2 separate regions of the Homo sapiens genome follow, and region 1 is linked to region 2. The links are contacts of gene promoters, found by promoter capture Hi-C in blood cells and fetal thymus (Javierre and others, 2016). All regions are on one chromosome and are shown on one strand. The core of a region is centred on a gene start or on the middle of the fragment in contact, and the rest is flanking DNA. Distances in the headings are between cores, read along the strand shown. Region 1 overlaps CLDN12 (claudin 12). Region 2 holds the start of TP53TG1 (TP53 target 1).

The links. The method cuts DNA at HindIII sites, captures the fragments that hold promoters and counts their contacts. A CHiCAGO score of 5 or more calls a contact.
Region 1: a fragment that was not itself captured here is called in contact with the fragment with the promoter of TP53TG1 in region 2 in 1 of 17 cell types (non-activated CD4 T cells); the score reaches 5.7 in non-activated CD4 T cells.

Annotation. Positions count from the first base shown.
Region 1 is chr7:90,405,466-90,411,144 of GRCh38, reverse strand. CLDN12 (claudin 12) reads right to left here. Exons shown (of 4, transcript NM_001185072.3): 2 at 5,537-5,626. Among named protein-coding and RNA genes, the nearest start is that of CLDN12, 4.8 kb to the right of the region's middle. The HindIII fragment of the contact is 5,522 bases long and covers 1,549-5,679 here.
Region 2 is chr7:87,341,599-87,347,208 of GRCh38, reverse strand. TP53TG1 (TP53 target 1) reads left to right here and starts at 1,717. Exons shown (of 3, transcript NR_015381.1): 1 at 1,717-2,166; 2 at 5,525-5,610. CROT (carnitine O-octanoyltransferase) reads right to left here and starts at 1,545. Exons shown (of 18, transcript NM_021151.4): 1 at 1,442-1,545; 2 at 779-869. RefSeq lists a silencer at 1,520-1,729 and an enhancer at 5,367-5,436. The HindIII fragment of the contact is 3,653 bases long and covers 893-4,545 here.

The DNA.
Region 1 (5,679 bases), core at 3,060-5,559, 3.1 Mb before region 2:
CCAAAATGCTAGGAAGCTGGCTTAGAATGTGATTGTTGCATGAATTCCAGTGGGAGGGCACAATGTTCTTTAGAAAACAATGTTATTTGTATATTTAATCTAGTCATATAATATAGGAATAATTTTTTCTTTTTCTTTCTTTTTTTTTTGAAACAAGTCTTACTCTGTTGCCCAGGCTAGAGTGCAATGACACAATCATGGCTCACTGCAGCCTTGACCTTCCAGGCTCAAGCGATCCTCCCACCTCAGCCTCCTGAGTAGCTGGGACCATAAGCACACGTCACTATGTTCAGCTAATTTTTGTATTTTTTGTAGAGACGGGGTTTTCTCATGTTGCCTAGGCTGGTCTCGAACTCCTGGGCTCAAGCAATCCACCAGCGTCAGCCTCCCAAAGTACTGAGATTACAGGTGTGAACCAGCCCTCCTCCTTCCACCCCCACAATTCTTATTCCCTTTCTTCTTTTCTTTCTTTTAGAGACATGGTTTCACCATGTTGGCCAGGCTGGTCTCGAACTCCTGGCCTCAAGCAATCTTGCTGCCTTGGCCTCCAAAAGTGCTGAAATTACAAGCTGGGATTATAGTCATGAGCAACTGCGCCCAGCCAGAATAATTTTACTAACCAAAAAAATGCCTATGTGTACATACATATATTCAAATATACACAAATAGCATATATAAATGTACAATATAAAAATCAGAGTTTAAGCACAAGTAACCATTTTTAAAGCCCTCAAGTTAAACATGGTTAGTTCTAAGTTTTTCCATTAGTATTAGTTTAGTATTTATTATGTTACCTTCTGTCAGTATTATCAGAAGTAGCAATTTCTTAAGAAAATTTTATGAAAGGGAGAGACTAATTACAGTATTTTTTTCAAGCAAATTGGGAAAAAGCTGTCTTGCTTAATTGTGGCAACCAAACACCTCAGTACAGCAATGGAAACTAGTACAGATTTGAGAATGTTTGCACTGGAAAAAGCTACTAGAAATGCCAAGCTCTAGGATACAGCTCTCTGGTGGTCTTTGCTTATTCATCTGTCTATCTCCCCCATACAACTTGTGTGCCTGGCACACAAGTGATTCTAGGATTATTTGAATAAACGAGTATTGGGCTCTGTACAAAGACCCCAGTAACTCACAAAGGTGGGCCACTGGTAATGAAGAACTGTACAAGGAAGTAGCTATTACTAAGAAGCAATCATTCATTCAGCAAGTACTTACATCATGCTGAGTGTCTAGCATATGCAAAACACTCTGTTAGGCCCTGGAAAGACACCAAGACCACTGATAACTGGACCTTGCTCCCAATGTGTTTATAGAGACTTGTGGAAAGAAACGGCTGTCTTATGTAAACTCAAAGTGTTGGTGGTGAATCAACTGTATAATTACTACGTATCAAGTGATTATTGTTAGGTGTTAAGCAAAGTGAATAAGGTACCTGTTCATAAAAATTTATCAGGCAGGAGTTAAAGACTGAGAAATGAAGGAGAATAAGGATTTGATTAAAGTTGTGAAGACATAGGAAAAAGGTTCCCTCGTTTCTTTCAAGCTTCAGAAGTCTTCAGATAACCCACTCAAAGTCCTAATGCAATCACAATTCCTTCTTGCTTTCAGAAGTAATATACTGGCTGGGCGAATTGGCTCATGCCTGAAATCCCAGCACTTTGGGAGGCCAAGGCTGGTAGATCACTTGAGGTCAGGAGTTTCAGACCAGCCTGGTCAACATGGTGAAACCCCATCTCTACTAAAAATACAAAAACTAGCCAGGCATGGTGGCACGTGCCTGTAATCCCTGCTACTCAAGAGGCTGAGGCAGGAGAATCGCTTGAACCCAGGAGGTGGAGGTTGCAGTGAGCCAGATCACACCACTGCACTCCAGTCTGGGTGACAGAGCACGAGACTCTGTCTCAAAACAAACAAACAAACAAACAAACAGGAACAAAAAACAAAAGTAGTATAGAAATAATTGGAATTTCAATGTAATTGAGATTTCTCCAATCAAACTGCCCTGTAACACTGATTCCTGAAATGTAAATGGAGTGAGAAACAAGATCAGGATGTATAACTCCATTATTAATAAATTCCAGGCCAGGTGCTGTGGCTCATGCCTGTAATTCCAGCACTTGGGGAGGCTGCGGTGGGAGGATAGCTTGAGCCCAGGAGTTTGAGACCAGATTGGGCAACATAGCGAGACCCCATCTCTACAAAAAAAAGAAAAATTAATTATTAAGAAAAATAAATAAATTCCTATAATTCTTAGCCTATAGACTATCAAATGACATTAATGAAGAGAGGTACGACAATATATATTTCAGTAGTAAGTGCTTTTAACTATATTCTGCATCAAATCAATACAAATATTATATTGGTTCTCTGAAATTGCCTTTGATGAAGCATTCTTAGCTCAGATCTCAGGGATGGACAGAGGCCTATCTATACAGAGTCAACAAGGATACCACGGCACTTTTTCAGAAGGGAAGTACTATTAACCTTAATTCTTAAGCTAAATTTTGGCCTGATACTGGAATTAATGTCTAGCTTCTTTTGGCTACTTCACCTTGTATGCCCTGTTCTTAATTTCAAATGCCTATGATTTGATAAGTCATATATCCCACCAGAGAGATAAAGTAATTTCTTTTAAGACAGGGTCTTACTCTATCACCCAAGCTGGAGTGCAGGGCATGATCACAGCTCACTAGATTTCAGTGAGCTGAGATCCTGGGCTCAAGTAATCCTCCTGCCTCAGCCTCCTGAGTAGCTGGGATAACAGGTGCATGCCACCATGCCAGACTAATTTTTAAGTTTTCCCTAGAGATGGGGTCTTGCTGTGTTGCCCAGGCTGGTCTTGAACTCTTGGGCTCAAGCAATCCCCCCACCTCCACCTTTCAAAGGGCTGGGATTACAAAAGTAAGCCACCATGCCTGAAGTAAAATTTTATAGGATAGTTTGGGGAAAGAATATGTTTGATGTTTTAAAACAAAGATAATGCTGACTTCCCGATTAGGATTTGTTCATACTTGCAAGGGTAAAAAGACCTCTACTCTTGTGCTGTGTCAATTAGTTTTAATCCACAATAATTTTTTTCAAATGCAAACCTCATCCGCCATTCCATTTCTTACCATTCAATAAGTTCCCATTTCCCACAGAATAAAATCTCTAAAGTTTCAACTCCTCCCCATAGCTTACACCACCTGATTCCTACCAAATTCTCAACCTTCGTATGTGCCACTCTCCCACCCCACACACTACAGTCTATGCAGCCAAACCACATTTCTTTTGACTTCCCAAATTTTCCACTTTCTGATTTGGTTAAGGGCCTTCCCTCATGGTCTTTCTCCTAGAACTTTCTTAATTCCAACCTATTCTTTGCTTGGCTAATATTTACTCATTCTTCTAGTGTCCAGGGAGGCTTGTCCTAAACCTCCCCCTGTCCCTGGTTATATGCTGTGGTAGCACTTTTGCACTTTTTCTTCTGTAGCAGTGATCATTCTTATAACTCCTTGTTCAGTGTAGTTTTCTTTCCCATCAGACTGTGAATTCCAGGGACAGAGATCCCTTTGTTTTGTTCACTGTTCCCTATACTGGCACATAAAAGGCACTCGATTATTTGCTGAATGAATGAACAAACAAATGGAGGTTCTGTATAACTCTGGTCAGAATACAGACAGAAATTTAGTCTCAGTTCCATTCACTTCATTTGAGAGAATTCACACCACCCTGTGTTCTGATACATCCAGACTGTTTCTAGACTGTGCCCCTGCTTTCTCCTTTTTGGCCAAAAGACTCCCATTTTACAAAACAACATTCATTTTCTTACCCCAGAAACCTGTGATTAGCAAAGACAAGGCCATCCTTAGGTACCTACATGCAGACTATGATTCTAGAAATATATATCTAGGTTTAGCAACACTGTCTAACTTCAACAAATGGTTTGAAAGTCAATTATTCCTGGCGCGGCGTGGTGGCTCATGCCTGTAATCCCAGCACTTTGGGAGGCCGAGGTGGGTGGATCACGAGGTCAGGAGTTTGAGACTAGCCTGGCCAATATGGTGAAACCCCGAGACTCCATTTCAAAAACAAAAAGTCCACTGTTCCGGTATTGATTTTTCTGTTTTCAACTTAACAGGTATGTCATGAATTAGACATACTTCTCTTAAGAGTGGTTAATATATCAAATTAATATTTATTAAAGCTAAACAATATATAGTTTTTTTAATGGAGAAAAAAAAACATCTTTTTGCCATGTGAAAATCCCTAATTAGGGACTGTGGAAAACGTGCAAGGCTAAGAACACTTTAACAAATCTGTCAAGCAGTCATGAGTACTAGCTGGATGAGAGCTTTGAGCTAGGTCATACATACACATAAGTGGTTTGTTGTTTCCATCCAGGAGGCTGCTTGGTATTGTTGTCCAGGAGACCAAAGACCTGAATAACATTCATAACCTATCATTTACAAACTGGACAAGTCACTTATGTCCTCTGAACCTCCAATTTTTCATCTGTAAAGTGTCCCACAAAGTAGTAAAATCATGAATAGCAAAGTCCTTTGTAAACCAGAATATGGTCAGAAATGTAAGTCAGTAATGATTATTAGCAGGCTTATTTACTTTTTTCAGCTAGAAACATACTTTTCTTCTGGACCCTCAGCAAATGACTACAGATGGTTATAGTCATATAACAAGAAGGACAGAACATTCTCTTTGGAGATACTGACCAAATCAAATAGAGACTCTATTTCAAATAACCACTTCACATTTGTCATTTGACTCTCTGTTCCACCGTGACTCAGAAAAGTAGATAAAATTTGATACACAATTAAATGTTATCAGAGACATAATTACGAATAAAAATATTTTCAAATTATATATTTTCTGTGGTTTTGAATAGAATTTAAAGAAGGCTGGAGCAGGAACAGTGGCTAAGAGCTTTAGGAAGTCATGTATCCAATAGACCCTGTACTATTTTTTCCAGGCACAATTCTGAGTTATAGTTACAAGAGTTACGAGAGTACATATGTCTAATAGCAGCTAGCTTCTATTTTTTTGAGACAGGGTCTCGCTTTCTCACCCAGGCTGGAGCACAGTGGTGCAATCATGGCTCACTGCAGCCTCGACCTCCGAGGCTCAAGCAATCCTCCCACCTCAGCTTCCAGAGTAGCTGGGACTATAGGCATGTACCACCACAACTGGCTAATTTTTTAAAATTTTCTCATACAGTCAGGATCTCGCTATGTTGCCCAGGATGGTCTCAAACTCCTGGGCTCAAGGGATCCTTCCACCTCAGCCTCTCAAAGCGCTAGGGTTACAGGGCTGAGCCACCATGCCCAGCCCTAACTTAATTCTTGATGGTAACATTGAGAGTTCCTTCTACCTATAATTTGGGTTTTCTTAGAAACTGTAAGTCATCAGTCATTGTACTCACAAGAGAGGTCTGTCCTATACCTCTATTTTGTTGAACAAGAGAAAAAAAAAGAGTCATTGTTGGCAGATGTGGTAGCAGGAGGGAGGGAAATAAGATATAATTAAAGGACGTACTTACGCTTTGAGGTACCTGACAGTTCCAAAACAGCTTTATTCAGCTTAGAAGAGACACATGAAGATCTGAATACAGAGTAGCAATAATCTGAGCCTAAAGAAATAGGAAAAATACTCCAAATTAACATAGTACTTCTCTAAAAACCC
Region 2 (5,610 bases), core at 468-2,967:
TCTACAGAACTGACCTTAAAATAGGGATATTATCGAATTGGAACTAATCTAATCACTTGAGTCCATAAGAGCAAAGAGCTTTCTCTGGCCAGTGGCAGACAAGTAAGACTGCTTTAATGCTTGAGAAGGATTTGTGGTGTCTTTGAAGATGCAGATGGCCTTAAAGAACTGAAAGAGGCTCAGGCTGACAAACAGTAAGGATATAGAAATGTCAGTGTGAATTCTACCAACAATCTGAAATAGCCTGGAGGTGGATTCTCCCCTAGAGCCTCCAGAAAAGAATCCAAATCTACAGAAACCTTGGTTTCGGTTTTGTGAAATTCTAAGCCAAGTACTCAGCTAAGCCCACCCAAACTTCACATTTACAGAAGCTATGAGATAATACATTTGTGTTGTTTTAATTGTTGCATTTGTGTAATTGGTTAAGGCAGCAATAGAAGACTAGTACACACATACAGAGAAGATAAGCTATTCTGTTTACCTCTGTGCCACTTAATAGACTCTAGAAAACTGGAAGCAAGAGTATTAGTTACATACCCACTATAGTGCTTAACCCACCAACCGGTACACATTAAAAATATAAATTATTGGATTCTTTCTTGAAGAGTTTTCTTGAATTCTCAACCACAAAGATTAAGTTAAATAAGATGGTTCCAATAGCACTAAGAAAATGATTATGCTAGATTTAATTAGAATTGACTTTCTGGGGGCAATTAGATATGAATTCACAGAAAGTGGAAAAGAACCACGAACAATACGTGAAGGAATTGTCACATACCAGTACACCAAGAAGATGAACTGCTTGAGACTGCCAGGAGCCTGCTGCAACAATTGTTTTGAGATCACAGGGAACTGGACTAAGTCGGTGACTGTGGGAAGAAAGAAACAAGCTTAACAAATATTTAAGAGGGAAAAAGAAATGAACAAGCTAGTGAAAGAAGGTGGAATGCAGACAAACTAGGAGTTGGGAGTTCCCAAGACAAACTTTTCGTGAATCACTGCAAACACACGCAAATAGTCCACCTGCTAGAGAGCAGGAGTAAATGATCATACAATTAAGTAGGTTTCAGACAAGTACACCTTCCATTAGACGGGTTCAAAGGGTAGAGGATACGTTTTCAGTGGCTGGGTAACAGGTTCGTCGCAGAGTGGCAAGGGGTAGAAGCAGGAGCAGAGGGCAATGAGAGCTCGGAGGCTCTTCCCACCAACCCAAGAGCAACTCTGCACTCAAGAGGCCATCAAGTGAGAGAAATCTAAGCACTACAACGGAGCAGCCCCGCGGCCCAACCTTGAGGGTACCCCTGAGACCCCAGCAGGCGAGATGCTTGATGACACTACTCCCCCACCAAATCCAGGCACCTTTGCGGTTCTGCACGACTTAACTTTCCCCCGCCCCCGAGTTGAAGGATTAGGGGAGGGAGGGAATGCTGCTTCAACGGACCTGTCCGTCCTCACCGCCCGCGCCTCGCCGCCTCTGCCGCAGCCTCAGCCTGCAGCAGCACCGGCTCGCTCCCCCTTGGGCCTCAAAGGTGCGGGAATTGGACTGAAGGCCGCTAGGGTCCCGCCCCGCATTCGCCGGGGAACAGGATTGGATAGAAAGCCGCGAGGGTCCCGCCCCTCACTTTCCGGGGAACGGGACTGGACGGACAGCTGCAAGGGTCCCGCCCCGTGCCTGACGTCGGGGGCGAGCCGGGCCTGCGCGGTAGTGGGACCCGACCCTGTCTCCAGTGGGCGTCTTGGGCCCCGGCTCTATTCTGGGCTGCGGGCCTGGGAAGGGCTCGCCGGGTGCCAAATGAGCTGTCCTAACTCTGCGGGGCTGCAGCTTCCTGCATGATGCTGGGGAGCTTGGCGCCTGACCCAGGATCTAGAAGGCACTCTGGGCAGGCCGCGCTCCGCCCACGAAGGTACCCAACCCTCTGGGATAGATGCAGGAAGCGATGGTTAAGACCCATTTTCACCCAACTTCTCGCCGCAGGTCTGGCTTACCACACGCTCCTCCCCATTCCCAGTGAGCCGCTTTTTGCAGCACCAGGCGAACACTTACACCAGTGCTTTGTAAAGGAATCTTATTGTCCACCCCGTGTCTTGGCAAAAGAACAGTGATCACACAGATTCCTACTTGGGCTCTTTCCTTTAATCTTCGGAGGCTGAGTTTGCCCAACTCAGGTATGCCGCAGCACACTACATCATCTCGGGTCTCCTTGCTCTTCTGCAGCTCTTCATTGCTACCCAAGTTATTTGAATACCCCAGGGATGCTTACCCCCGGGCCTATCTGATGTCTTTTACTGTTGTGCCAAGAAATGGAATCTTTAACCAGAGTGGAGCTACCCAAGTTCTAGAAGATCATAATGTGATTGACTTAGTTTCACAGATTAATTCATTTTGCTTTTACCTTCTGAAATAAAATATACTGTTTCATTTTTAATTTTAAATACACTGTTTCATTTTTTTGTGGAAGGAAAGACCAAATGTTTACACTGACTCTGAACTAGTTATCAAAGATAAAGATTTAGATTTCAAATTAACATGTCATGACAGGCCCCATTCCTTTGTCTGTCGTTTCTAACTCCTTTAGCAGTAAAGTTTGACCTGAAGGGAAGTGAGGCTATGTGTAACTGAATGTTCCCTTTGTGTAAATATTCATAAGTTTTCTACAGAAATATTGTGTTTGATTACAGTACAGCTTGCTGGAAGTGTTTCATAATATATGGCAGACGTACTATTCTAAGAAAAGTTCTGAATTTTGAAACATATCTAGCCAAAAAGATTTTAAATAAGGGATTAGGAATTTGTAGTTGTAATTTCTGAAGGTGTGATAAAGAACTTTTTCTTTCATATATAAGTGCGATGCTCTGGATGATGTTAAAGTTTGCTTACAAGATAAAGTTTTTAAATTGAGTAACTAAAAACTACTCAGAAACCTTCGTTGTATTTTTTTTCTCCTTTTTAGTGAGTCTTGGCATCTCTTTAAAAGTTTATGCATGTTTAATGCCTGTTGGTGCATAGAATTTAGAACCATTTCGCTTCACTCTTTTTCCTACTCTTGTTGTTTATTTCAATGGAAACAAGATGTTTCTGTAAAGATTCCTGAATTATCGGATAGACAAAAAGGTGTGGGAGTGAAAAAATGAATGGAACACAGATTTGAGTATGTAGAAAAAAATCTTTTAAAATATGTTATACTGATAAGCATATGTACCCCAAATCACCAAAAACAGGTATTTTAAAATATGTTTGGCTTCAAAATGTGTGATATATATTTTAATGAAAGATTCCAAATTATGTTGCATTCAGGTTAAACTTGAACGAGTTTGCATTTCTTAGAGTGGAGCGGGAGATATTGGCTGGTAAGGAAGATGTTTTAGGCACTTGAAGTATTTGTGATAGCAAGAAGTTGTTCCAAGATTAAAAATTGACTATGAGTCAAAGTAACTTTTTGGAGGAAAATTTGTAAGTAGTACAAGTGGTGATAATTTTTTAAGTTGCCATTAAAAAAATCTTTTATTTTTGTTCTTCTGTAGTTCTTACTCAGCATACCACAAATTGCAAAAGACTTTATAGATAAGTCTAGATAAATTTCACCATTAAAAAGTATTAAAATGCTAGACTAAGAAGTTCATGTTTCAATCTGCATAACTGGCTTCCTGCTAAGATTTGTGACTCTAATAAGTAAGGAGATATGGTAAATAGCCCTAATCTATGGGAGACCTGTAACCTCCTTTCATTCTGATGTATAAAATGAACATGTTGAAGAAATAATTTTGTGATGTTTCTTCTTTTTAATGGGGGGGCAGTAGAAATATGGTCATTTTGGGAAGCAGCCAACAGCAAATTAAAGTACACTGGACGCAAAGAGGGCAATGTAGCATTAAAAATGAACTCCACTGCCAACAGCAGATGAACAGTGTTTGATACAAAAGGTCTCTTTTTAGTACTAATCATTGATTTGGGGTTGCTTTTGATGATATTTACAGTACATGAAAAGTTGCCACCAAAATCTGAGGGGAAGAGTTAAGATAACTATGATGTTTTTGCATCTCAGAAAAAAATACCTTCTTACTAAACAAAATATAACATTTAAAAATTTTGTTAACATCTTTGTTGAAATATAATTTACATACCATAAAGTTCGGCCATTTAAAGTCCACAAATCAATGGTTTTACTATATTCACAGGGTTATGCAGTCACCATAAGCTAATTTTAGAACATTTGGTTCAAATATTTAAAAAGATTATTTTCTACATACTCAAATCTCTGTTCCACTCATTTTTTTCAGTCCCACAACTTTTTCTATATCCAAAAATCCAGGCATCTTTACAGGAACATTTTGTTTCCATTGAAATAAATAACAAGACTGGGAAAAGAGTGAAGCAAAGTGGCTCTAAATTCTGTGTTACCAACAGGCATTAAACATGATTCATCAACTGACTGATGAATGTATGAACCACTTTTTGTTTGTCCATTCATCAGTTCATGGACATTTGGGTTGTTTCTACCTTTTGTCTATTTAAATAATGGTACTATAAACATTTGTGTACAAGCTTTGTGTGAACAGGCTTTCAATTAGTATTTTAGGAGTGGAGTTGTGGGGTCGTATGTTAACTCTATGTTTAACATTTTCAAAAACCGTCAAACTGATTTCCAAAGGAACTGTACCGTTTTTACATATCTGCCAGCAATATGAGTTTCAATTTCTCTGTGCCTTTAGTTACAATAACAATATAACAGCCCTTGCTATTGTCTTTTAAAAAAAATACAGCCACTCTAATGAATGTGAAGTGGTGTCTTGTGGTTTTGATTTACATTTTTTTGTGAAGACTAAGAGTGTTGAGTATTTTTTCATGTGCTTATTGGCCATTTATATATCCTCTTTGGAGAAATGTTTATTAAGATCCTTTTCCCATTTTTTAATTAATGCACACATTTTAAAATTATATTAAAATTAGGCAATGGTCTGACCATAAAAAGGCTGCTTATGGAATACTGTTATGTTAAACTTCACTTACAGGATGCTAAATCCTTAGAACTGAGGTTTTCCCCAGAAAAAGATTAATGGAAACATCAGTTGCTTTTCAGACTTGATTCTGCTTCAAAAGATGATTTTACACAAATAATTTTAAAAAACTTTAGTACACAACGAATCACTTTTAGTTTGGTATGCATCCACATTTCAGCATTTAGTAGTGGTCCTGAACAGAAAGTGAAAAACACAGCAATTTTTCCAGGAGGTCAAGTCTGCCAATTTCAGGGATCTGCTGTGTACCCCAATTTCTTTCTTAATCCCTGCTGAGGATCTTGAGAAGCAGGAGCAGCACCAAAACCAAGGCATGCACTGGATCCAAGGTTCTTTTTGTTCCAGTTGTGAGATTCCAAACTAGACCCCAGTGGATTGCAAGGATGACCAAATGAGAGCCCTGCTTAAAACTTCTTCAATTTTTAAAAGCGAAAGCAATTACAAGAAAATGAAACAATGCAGAGGGATCATATGTGCTTTCAAGTGTCTTCATGTGCTCTTTCTCCAGGTTTAACCACCAAGGACTCTGAGAGCTGGCAGGTCTGAGTAACCCTGGTAACAATTCTCTTCACCTTATCAAAACCTGAGCTAAAA